Linked DNA regions of Homo sapiens: region 2 is linked to region 1. Evidence: promoter capture Hi-C in 16 types of primary human blood cells and fetal thymus (Javierre and others, 2016). All regions are on one chromosome and are shown on one strand. The core of a region is centred on a gene start or on the middle of the fragment in contact, and the rest is flanking DNA. Distances in the headings are between cores, read along the strand shown. Region 1 holds the start of NR2C2AP (nuclear receptor 2C2 associated protein). Region 2 overlaps GATAD2A (GATA zinc finger domain containing 2A).

Evidence for each region. The method cuts DNA at HindIII sites, captures the fragments that hold promoters and counts their contacts. A CHiCAGO score of 5 or more calls a contact.
Region 2: a contact is called between a fragment that was not itself captured here and the fragment with the promoter of NR2C2AP in region 1, in 1 of 17 cell types (erythroblasts). The highest score is 5.1, in erythroblasts.

What each region holds. Positions count from the first base shown.
Region 1 is chr19:19,200,573-19,205,041 of GRCh38, forward strand. It overlaps NR2C2AP (nuclear receptor 2C2 associated protein), which reads right to left and starts at 2,842. Exons shown (of 5, transcript NM_176880.6): 1 at 2,451-2,842; 2 at 2,219-2,309; 3 at 1,898-2,003; 4 at 1,759-1,826; 5 at 837-1,469. The coding sequence starts at 2,488. The coding sequence ends at 1,353. It overlaps RFXANK (regulatory factor X associated ankyrin containing protein), which reads left to right. Exons shown (of 10, transcript NM_003721.4): 10 at 1,077-1,294. The coding sequence ends at 1,147. RefSeq lists a silencer at 1,818-2,084 and an enhancer at 2,748-3,042. The HindIII fragment of the contact is 11,500 bases long and covers 1,711-4,469 here.
Region 2 is chr19:19,505,189-19,509,492 of GRCh38, forward strand. GATAD2A (GATA zinc finger domain containing 2A) reads left to right here. Exons shown (of 12, transcript NM_001384528.1): 12 at 156-3,744. The coding sequence ends at 286. Among named protein-coding and RNA genes, the nearest start is that of TSSK6, 8.2 kb to the right of the region's middle. RefSeq lists an enhancer at 1-305. The HindIII fragment of the contact is 3,777 bases long and covers 1-3,259 here.

The DNA.
Region 1 (4,469 bases), core at 1,592-4,091:
AGTAGCTGGGACTACAGGCATGTACCACTCTACCCAGCTAATTTTTAAAATCTTTTTTATTTATTTTTTGAGACAGAGTCTCGCTCTGTCACCCAGGCTGGAGTGCAGTGGCACAATCTCGGCTCACTGCAACCTCTGCCTCCCAGGCAAACAATTCTCCTGCCTCAGCCTCCTGAATAGCTGGGATTACAAGTGCCTGCCACCACACCTGGCTAATTTTTTTTTTTTTTTTTTTTTTTTTTTGAGATGGAGTTTCGCTCTTGTTGCCCAGGCTGGAGTGCTATGGCGTGATCTCGGCTCACTGCAACTTCCGCCTCCCAGGTTCAAGCAATTCTCCTGCCTCAGCCTCCCAAGTAGCTGGGATTACAGGCATGCACCACCATGCCCAACTAATTTTTTGCATTTTTAGTAGAGTCAGGGTTTCTCCATGTTGGTCAGGTGATCTCAAACTCCCGACCTCAGGTGATCCACCCGCCTCAGCTTCCCAAAGTGCTGGGATTACAGGCATGAGCCACCACACCCGGCTGCACCTGGCTAATTTTTGTAGTTTTAGTAGAGATGGGGTTTCATCATGTTGGTCAGGCTGGCCTTTCCTGACTTCAAGTGATCCACCTACCTTGGCCTCCCAAAGTGCTAGGATTACAGGTGTGAGCCACCAAGCCCAGCCTAATTTTTAAATTTTTTTGGTAGAGACAGCGTTTTGCTCTGTTGCCCAAGCTGGCCTCAAATTCCTGAGCTCAAGCAGTCCTCCCCACTGGACCTCCCAAAGTGCTGGGATTATAGGTGTGAGCCACCATGCCCAGGCTCATCTTTTCATGAAAGTCACAATTCACACATTTTGCTTGGTAGGAAATATTTTTATATTAATTCTGAAAAGCTACAAAAGTGCATTTTTACAAACTTAGGGGAAGTTGAGGTTCCTGGGGTGAGTCCTCGGTTCTCCCAGCTTTGCTCTGTAATGCAGGTCTCTGCAAGGGTCCCTGTTTGTCCCCTAAGGGGAGAGCGCAGGTTGGCCTGTGCCTCCACCCCACTCCCGATTCAAGCTCACAGCCCACCTTTTCCCTGCCCCATCTCAGTGCAACAGGTGATCGAGAACCACATCCTCAAGCTCTTCCAGAGCAACCTGGTGCCCGCTGACCCTGAGTGAAGGCCGCCTGCCGGGGACTCAGACACTCAGGGAACAAAATGGTCAGCCAGAGCTGGGGAAACCCAGAACTGACTTCAAAGGCAGCTTCTGGACAGGTGGTGGGAGGGGACCCTTCCCAAGAGGAACCAATAAACCTTCTGTGCAGAATGAGGGACTTTGCTGTGCTTCCCGGAGGGCTTCCTGGAGGAGACAGCCCCTAGAGGTCTCACACCTTCTCCCCAAGCACCCGCAGGTGGTAGATGACCACACGGCCAAAAAAGTCAGTGGCATCCTCAAACGTCACCTTCAGCCGGTCCACTTCAGCAGCTGGTATGGGGAAAGTGTGAGCGTGGGCAGTCAAGGGAAACTGGTGATTTCTGGTTTCCCACCCGCAGGCCCCCACCCCTTCCAGACCCAGCTCACACTCCACCGATGTGGGCAACCTGGGGAAGCTGCAGGTCCCTCTAAGCCTCTCACACAGAACAGGTGGTCATCAGCACCATTTTACAGAAAAAGTGGAGTCCTAGAGGTCACGTGTTCAAGATCACACATCAGGGTTCCCATTCGGGTTTGGGTGAGTCCAAAGCTTCCAGAGGCACAGACCACCCACCCCAGAAGCAGGGGCAGGATATCTGAAGCGAGTTGTTGTCCTCAGGGTAGAAATCTACAATCTTGTGGAGAGCCTGAGTGCCCTGTGAACCTTCAGCAGAGAAAGGCAATGAGTGTCTGGGGTGACCCCTGGAACCCCTGCCACCCAGGGCCTTCTAGTACCTTCCAGGCAGCCCCGGCGACTGGAGAAGCCACCCTGAAACTGGATCTGCAGCTGGGAGACACGGATGAGCTGGGGAAACTCCAGCGTCACCCACTGGGAGGGGCCCTGGAAGCAGACAGGGAAACTGAGGCGCAAGCTCACTGCAGGCACAGAGCCCTGCTATGCCTGTCTCATTCACATAGTTCTTGGAATGGAGGGGAAGAAGGAAATTCGGCACATGTTCCTTTCCTGGCCACCCATGAGGGCCCCCTGACGTTCTCAAGGCATGAGATCTGAATCTGAATCACCCTAGAGATGGAGGGTCGAGGGAGGCGCCTCACCTGGTCTGAGTTCCAACATGTCTCCTCATCCTGGTCGAAAAGATGTTTTTTTCCAAACTGCCGAGTGTTGCGATTCAGCACTGAACTCACCCTGGAGGCACCAGGATCAAGGCGAAGAGAGGGGCTGAGACCAGCTCTCAGCTCCGCGGAGGGCCTGACCCCCAGATCTGTCCACTGAGGGCTCGACCCCAGGCTTAGGGCCTCGCCACTGCCTGTCCCCACAGACTCTTACCTGCTCACTGTCTCTGGACAAACCAAAGAGTGGGTCATGTCGGTTCCACAAGACCTCGCAGGGCTTAGGATTGGGCACAGCCTTGGTTCGAATCCCGGCGCCTCCTCAAGCTACAGGGCGGCGCGATCTTGGCTACGCCTTGGCCTGAACGTCCTCACCTGTAACTTGGGACGAGAACCGCCACTCCCTCGCCCACCCCAGTCCTAAATGTCGCCTCGATCAATCCCCTGCCGGAAAATTTGGGAGAGAGGATCAGGGAAACCGCCAATGCCCGGAGGCCAGGCCTTTCACAGGAAACAGATTTCCCGCGGGTTTCGGGGGCGGTGGCTTTTTGTGCGAGGCTGTTTCTCTGCGAATAGCTCTTGGAGCCAAATCTTGGGACCCGGAACCGCGTGGGCTTGGCGCATGCGTGTTGTAATTCAGGCGCCGACCGCGGACGCTCCAGAGGTGGGGTTTGGTTCGACCCCGCCCCTTCATGCTCGCTTCTTAAAGGGCCCGGGTTCGATGATTGAATTTACCTTGGTTCCCTTGAAGCTGTAGGGAAAAGGCTGGCTGCGCGCACGGGGCGCTGTCCCTCGGCGCCCGAAGGTGTAGAGCACTGATTTTGACTGATTTTGGAATCCGAAAGACTTCCTTTTTTTTTTTTTTTTTTTGAGGCGGAGTCTCACTGTCGCCCAGGCTGGAGTGCAGTGGCACGATCTCCGCTCACTGCAAGCTCCGCCCCCTGGGTTCACGCCGTTCTCCTGCCTCAGCCTCCCAAGTAGCTGGGAATACAGGCGCCCGCCACCACGCCCGGCTAATTTTTCGTATATTTAGTAGAGACGGGGTTTCACCGTGTTAGCCAGAATGGTCTTGATCTCCTGACCTCGTGATCCAGCCGCCGGGGCTTCCAAAGTGCTGGGATTACAGGCTTGAGCCACCGCGCCCGGCCTTTTTTTTTTTTTTTTTTTGAAGTGGGGTCTCACTGTCACCCAGGCTGGAGTACAATGGTGGGATCGCGGCTCTCTGCGACCTCTGCCTCCCAGGCTCCAGCAATCCTCCTACCCAGCTTCCCGAATAGTTGGAACTAGTAGGCGCGCGCCACCACGGCAGGCTATTTTGTTTGTTTGTTTGTTTGTTTGTTTTTTGGTAGAGATGAGGTTTCGCCATGTTGCCCAGATTGGTCTCGAACTCCTGGGCTCAAGTGATCCGCCCACCTCAGCCTCCCAAAGTGCTGGGATTACAGGCGTAAGCCACCGCGCCCGGCCAGAGAGACTTCCTATGACAATGTCTTTCTTCCTACTCTAACCTACTCTACCCTAACGGCTACCCTAACCTACTCTAACCTACTCTACCCTAACCACTAAATGCAGCCTGGGAATCCCCGAACTTCACTGCCTCCCGGAGGCCAAAGGCAGAGTTGTGGAAAAGGCCACGATGTTGGGAGTATCTGAAGTCCTCATCAACCCTTTTTGTTCTTGTTGGGACAGAGGAGCCCTGGCCTCCAAGTTTGTCTTTCCCAGAAAATGCTGCTGGGACGTCAAGGAAGGCTTCTTGGAGGAGGGAGCATGCGAGGTCGGGTGTTTTTTGTTGTTTCTGTTTTGTTTTGTTTCGAGACGGAGCCTCACTTTGTTGCCCAGGCTGGAGTGCAGTGGTGTGATCTCAGCTCACTGCAACCTCCGCCTCCCAGGTTCAAGTGATTCCCCTGCCTCAGCCTCCTGAGTAGCTGTGACTACAGGTGCGCACCACTATGCCTGGCTAATTTTTGTATTTTTAGTAGAGATGGGGTTTCGCTATCTTGGCCAGGCTGGTCTCGAACTCCTAACCTCGTGATCTGCCCGCCTTGGCCTCCCAAAGTGCTGGGATTACAGGTGTGAGCCACCGCACCCAGGCTGTGAGGTGGGTTTTGAAGCATGAACAGGAGTTTGCCAAACAAAGCCTCAGATACCAAGCTGAAGATTTGGTTCACTGATTCACTAGACACCTCCTGCAAGCTCTACTGTCACACTGTCATGTCCAGCCTTCTGCTGGATGATGCTG
Region 2 (4,304 bases), core at 121-2,620, 300 kb after region 1:
TGAAACGTTGATTGAGGAGTAGTGTGGGTGGGTTTGCAAGGGCTCCTGGGTCCTTAGTCTGTATTGGGGCTGGGGTCTAGGCAGCTATGGCTGGGCTCCTCCCAGGAGCCCTCCTGACGAGGGCCTTCTCAGCTGGTCGCTCTGTTCTGTTGCAGGCGGGACCCTTGCGTTTGTCAGCCCAAGCCTGGCGGTGCACAAGAGCTCCTCGGCCGTGGACCGCCAGCGAGAGTACCTCCTGGACATGATCCCACCCCGCTCCATCCCCCAGTCAGCCACGTGGAAATAGTGCGAGCCAGGCCCCGTGGAAGACGGGCTCCCTCCTCCCCCACCTGGCCCCTGGTCTAGAAGGACCCACTGCACCACCCTCCGCTGGCTCGGGAAGACACCGTGCCCGCCCCAAGAGCAAGCACCGGCCATGCTGCAGAGGCAAGACCTCAATTCTTGGCTGCAAAGTTTCATCAGGGCTAGGGGGCTGGTGCCGCCTCATAGGCAGACGAGGATCATCGCTGGGGGACCTTTCCCGTGGGCTTTCTTCCTTTCTCTCTTTGCCTTTAGTTTGCCCGACACCAGCAGAAAAGTGGACCTTGGGGGCTGGTTCTGCTCCTGGCCCCCTTGTTCAGCCCCTGCCGGCACACGGGCGGCTCACCCTGGACACTGTGATGCGCATGGGCAAGGCCAGCGCCCGGGGCTTCTGAACCGAGCGGGGTGTTTCATTTTTTTGCTTTTCCCTGTCTTAGGCTCCCAGTCTTTGACTGCCTTCCCATGGCGATCTATAAGTTGAAAGATTTTTTTTTTTTTTAATCACCTCATGATGATGGAGTTAAAAGTAAACCGTGCAGACCCTGGGGTCCCTGTTGTACGCTGCATCATCCCGCTGGCCCTGTGCCCTGGAGGGTGGGCGGCTCATGGTGCCACAGCCCCTGGCAGGGACGGCCGGCCCGCCCCCGTGACTGACTGACAGATGCAGGGATGGCCGAGGCAGCCCTCGCTCCAGCTGAACGCCTCCATTGCTGCTTGTTCTGGAGACCCCCGCCCCCGCACCTTCCAGACTTAGCAGAAGAACAAACTGAAGAACAGACCCAGCCAGAGAAGCAGGGATTCCAGAAGCTGCCCATTAAGGGAGAAGGAGAGGATCCGGTCGGCAGCAGCCCTGAGCAGAAAGCTGGAGGGGGGACTGTCGCGGGGTTTTTCTGTTGTGGTTTATTTTATTAAATTTTTTCCTTTTTTCTATTCATTTCGATGGACGCAATCTTAAGCCACCCTGGCCTTGCTCCTGGGAGGTGAGCGTGCACAGGTGTGTGCAGGTCAGGAGGTGCCGTCCAGGTGTGCGGCGAGCCGCTGCGCACAGATGTCAGGATTTCCGTTTGGGTCTAGTTTAGAACCTGTCCTTAAACCTAGGGGTTGCTGTCAGGATTTGCTTTCAGACTTTTTTTTTTTTTGTAATTCCCTTTAGAGTCTACAAAAATGTTTTTAAAAGGATCAGGTCTGCTTTTAGTTTCATTTTTGTTTCTTTCCCGTCCCACTCTTTAAAAACTGGTTCCGTGAGGAAAGGCAGAAGCCGTTCCGTGTCTCTTGCAGGCTGGGCCGGCTTCATGCCAGTGCGAGGGCGTCCCGTGCCCACGTACATACGTATGTCTCCATGAGTTCTGGGCTCCACTGGTTCCAATTGAGCTCCAGCCCTGGTTTTCCTACCCATGCAGTTAGGGACTTTAATTTAATTTTTTTTTTGTAGGGCCACCGCCTTCAAACACAACTGCTACAACATTCTAATAAAGGCTCATTTAACCCCCAGGCTCCTGTCGTGTGAATATCCTCAGTCTGTAGGAAACTTTTTTTGACACAGCATAGAAGACCTAGTTTTGGAAAACATTATCTAATTTTTTGTTGTGCAAATCCCCAAATTTCTCACTAATTTTTGTTTTTTTGTGCATAACTTGGATGGGCTGAAGGAGGTGAGGACAGATTGGGGAAGGGTGGCTTTCATTCCAAGATCCAGGGATTTGGGGAAAAGGAAGGAATTTGATGTTTTTTGGGGTGGGAGGGGAGGGTGTGTTTTTTACACCAAAAAAAAAAAAAAAAATCAAGAGTATGCAAGCATTTCTATTCCTCGCATTTTTCTGTGTGCCTGGCAAATAAATACCTGTCTCCTACGACCCTGAGCTGTTAGCCCTCTCTGTTCCATGACAGGGGCCAGATCTTCCAGCTCCTCCCAGAAGGAGCACCCAGGCTGGCTTCTTCCCACTGAAAGCCCTCCCCAGCGAACCAACCTCAGTTCTATGCAGTGGCTGGGGATCAGGCATCCAGACCGAAGTCACCTCTGCCTGCTCCAGCTTGGGTCAGCTGGGTCTGACCAGGGGGCCAGATCCGAGCCGCACCTGCCGGCCCCCAGCCCCAGCTCCAGCTCCTGACCTCTCCCAGCCTGGCCTGGCTGTTCCTCCAGGGCTGATGGCTGTCAACCCATCCTTGTGAGTTCATATGGACTGCTGCCCCTCGAAAGGGAGAGGGTCGGCCCCATGTCCCCAGGGAGCATTCCATCAGGGACAACGTACATACTGTGATGTAAACTTTTTTTTTTTCCCCCCAGGGGGCAAAAGTGTGAGATGCCTTAATCTTTCCTTCATTTCTGCTGTCTCGAACACTCTAGCCCATTATTTCCTTTCAGTTCCTTGCAGCATAACCTCTACGATAAGCCCCAAGCGGGTTGTTGTATTATGACGTTTATGATGTTCCAGGTGAAGGCATTATTAAGTACCTCTCTGGGTGTGGGGTTTGGACGCACCAGGATAGCTATTGATTAATGTTAAGGGTGTTCTACCCACAGCAAAGCACACCCTCTTAAACCAGGCACTGCCTGGGTCCTGGTCCCGAGAGCCCTACCAGGATCAGGTTCCTGCAAGCCGTCAGAATGTGGGAGCCCCCAGCCCAACTGATTGTAACTGTCCCCTGTTACCTGTGACATGAACCTCCAACAGCACCTGGAAACGGTTCCCTCTGTCAGCTGCTCTGTAGACAGGGCTGGGGAGATCTCAGAGTTCACACCTCGCCTGTTGTAGGGGAGGTTGGGGGTAGGGTTTGGAATGGCCAAGTGCCCTTGGAACCTCCCACAGCTATGGCCGTCCTGACCTCATCCCAGGAACTCTACGGTGACCAGGAACCACCCCTCTGACGAGGTCTGTAGCGGCCCTTCTCAGAGTGGAACAGCCCACAGTGCTAGTTGTGCCTGGTCTTACCTGTACTCCACGGACCTCGGTGAAGCAAAAGCTTCAGGGCAGAGGGAATGAGGCAACCCAGTGGCAGCCCCGCTGGGCCCCGTGGCTCCTGCTCTCCTATTGGACGTAGAGGCAGGGGAGAGACTTCTCTATACAAATATTCTCATCACAGAAGGGATGATCCTTGCTGCTCTGCCGTAGGGTTTTTGATGCTGAGCTATGCTGCACATGACGTTAACCTAAAGAACTTGGACTGAGCTTTTAAAAAAGGACAGCAAACAATTTTATAATCCTTAAAGTGTAATAGACGGTTACACTAGTGCAGGGTATTGGGGAGGCTCTTTGGGTGTGGAGGCTGTCACTTGTATTTATTGTGACTCTAAATCTTTGATAGTAAAACAAATGTAAAAAGAAATGTTTGCCACCAGATGGGAATAGAAGTTCCAATAAGCAGGCTGGAATGGGTGGCTATACGTTGTATCACGAGGAAGTTTTAGACTCTGAAGGATAATAAATGGATGATGTGTCAACTGGACTTTTCTTTTGTCCCTTCTGCCCTGGCTTCTCTGTATTGTTTCGTCCTAGCTTCCCAGGCAGGTTGGAGGGAGATGGAGGATGACCCTTAGTTAATGAGAGAAGCAAAGGGCGGGGTGCATCTGCTGCTGGGGCCTCACTTACTGTGGGGATGGAGTCCCCACGGCCCCTCTCCTCTGGAGCTTTGTGGCAAACTTACCCCATGGGCTGGGAGAGAGGAATGAGAATCTCAGTGGGGGCTGGGTTTGGTGGCTCACATTTGTAATCCCAGCACTTTGAGAGGCTGAGGTGGGTGGATCACCTGAGGTCAGGAGTTCGATACCAGCCTGGCCAACATGGTGAAACCCCATCTCTACTAAAAATACAAAAATTGGCCGGATGTGGTGGTGGGTGCCTGTACCCCAGCTACTTGGGAGGCTGAGGCAGGAGAATCGCATGAACCCGGGAGGCAGAGGTTGCAGTGAGCCAAGATTGCGCCACTGCACTATAGCCTGGGTAAGAGACCGTGACTTTCTCAAAAAAAAAAAAAAATTCTCAGTGGAATTTGCTTGTGTTTGCTGC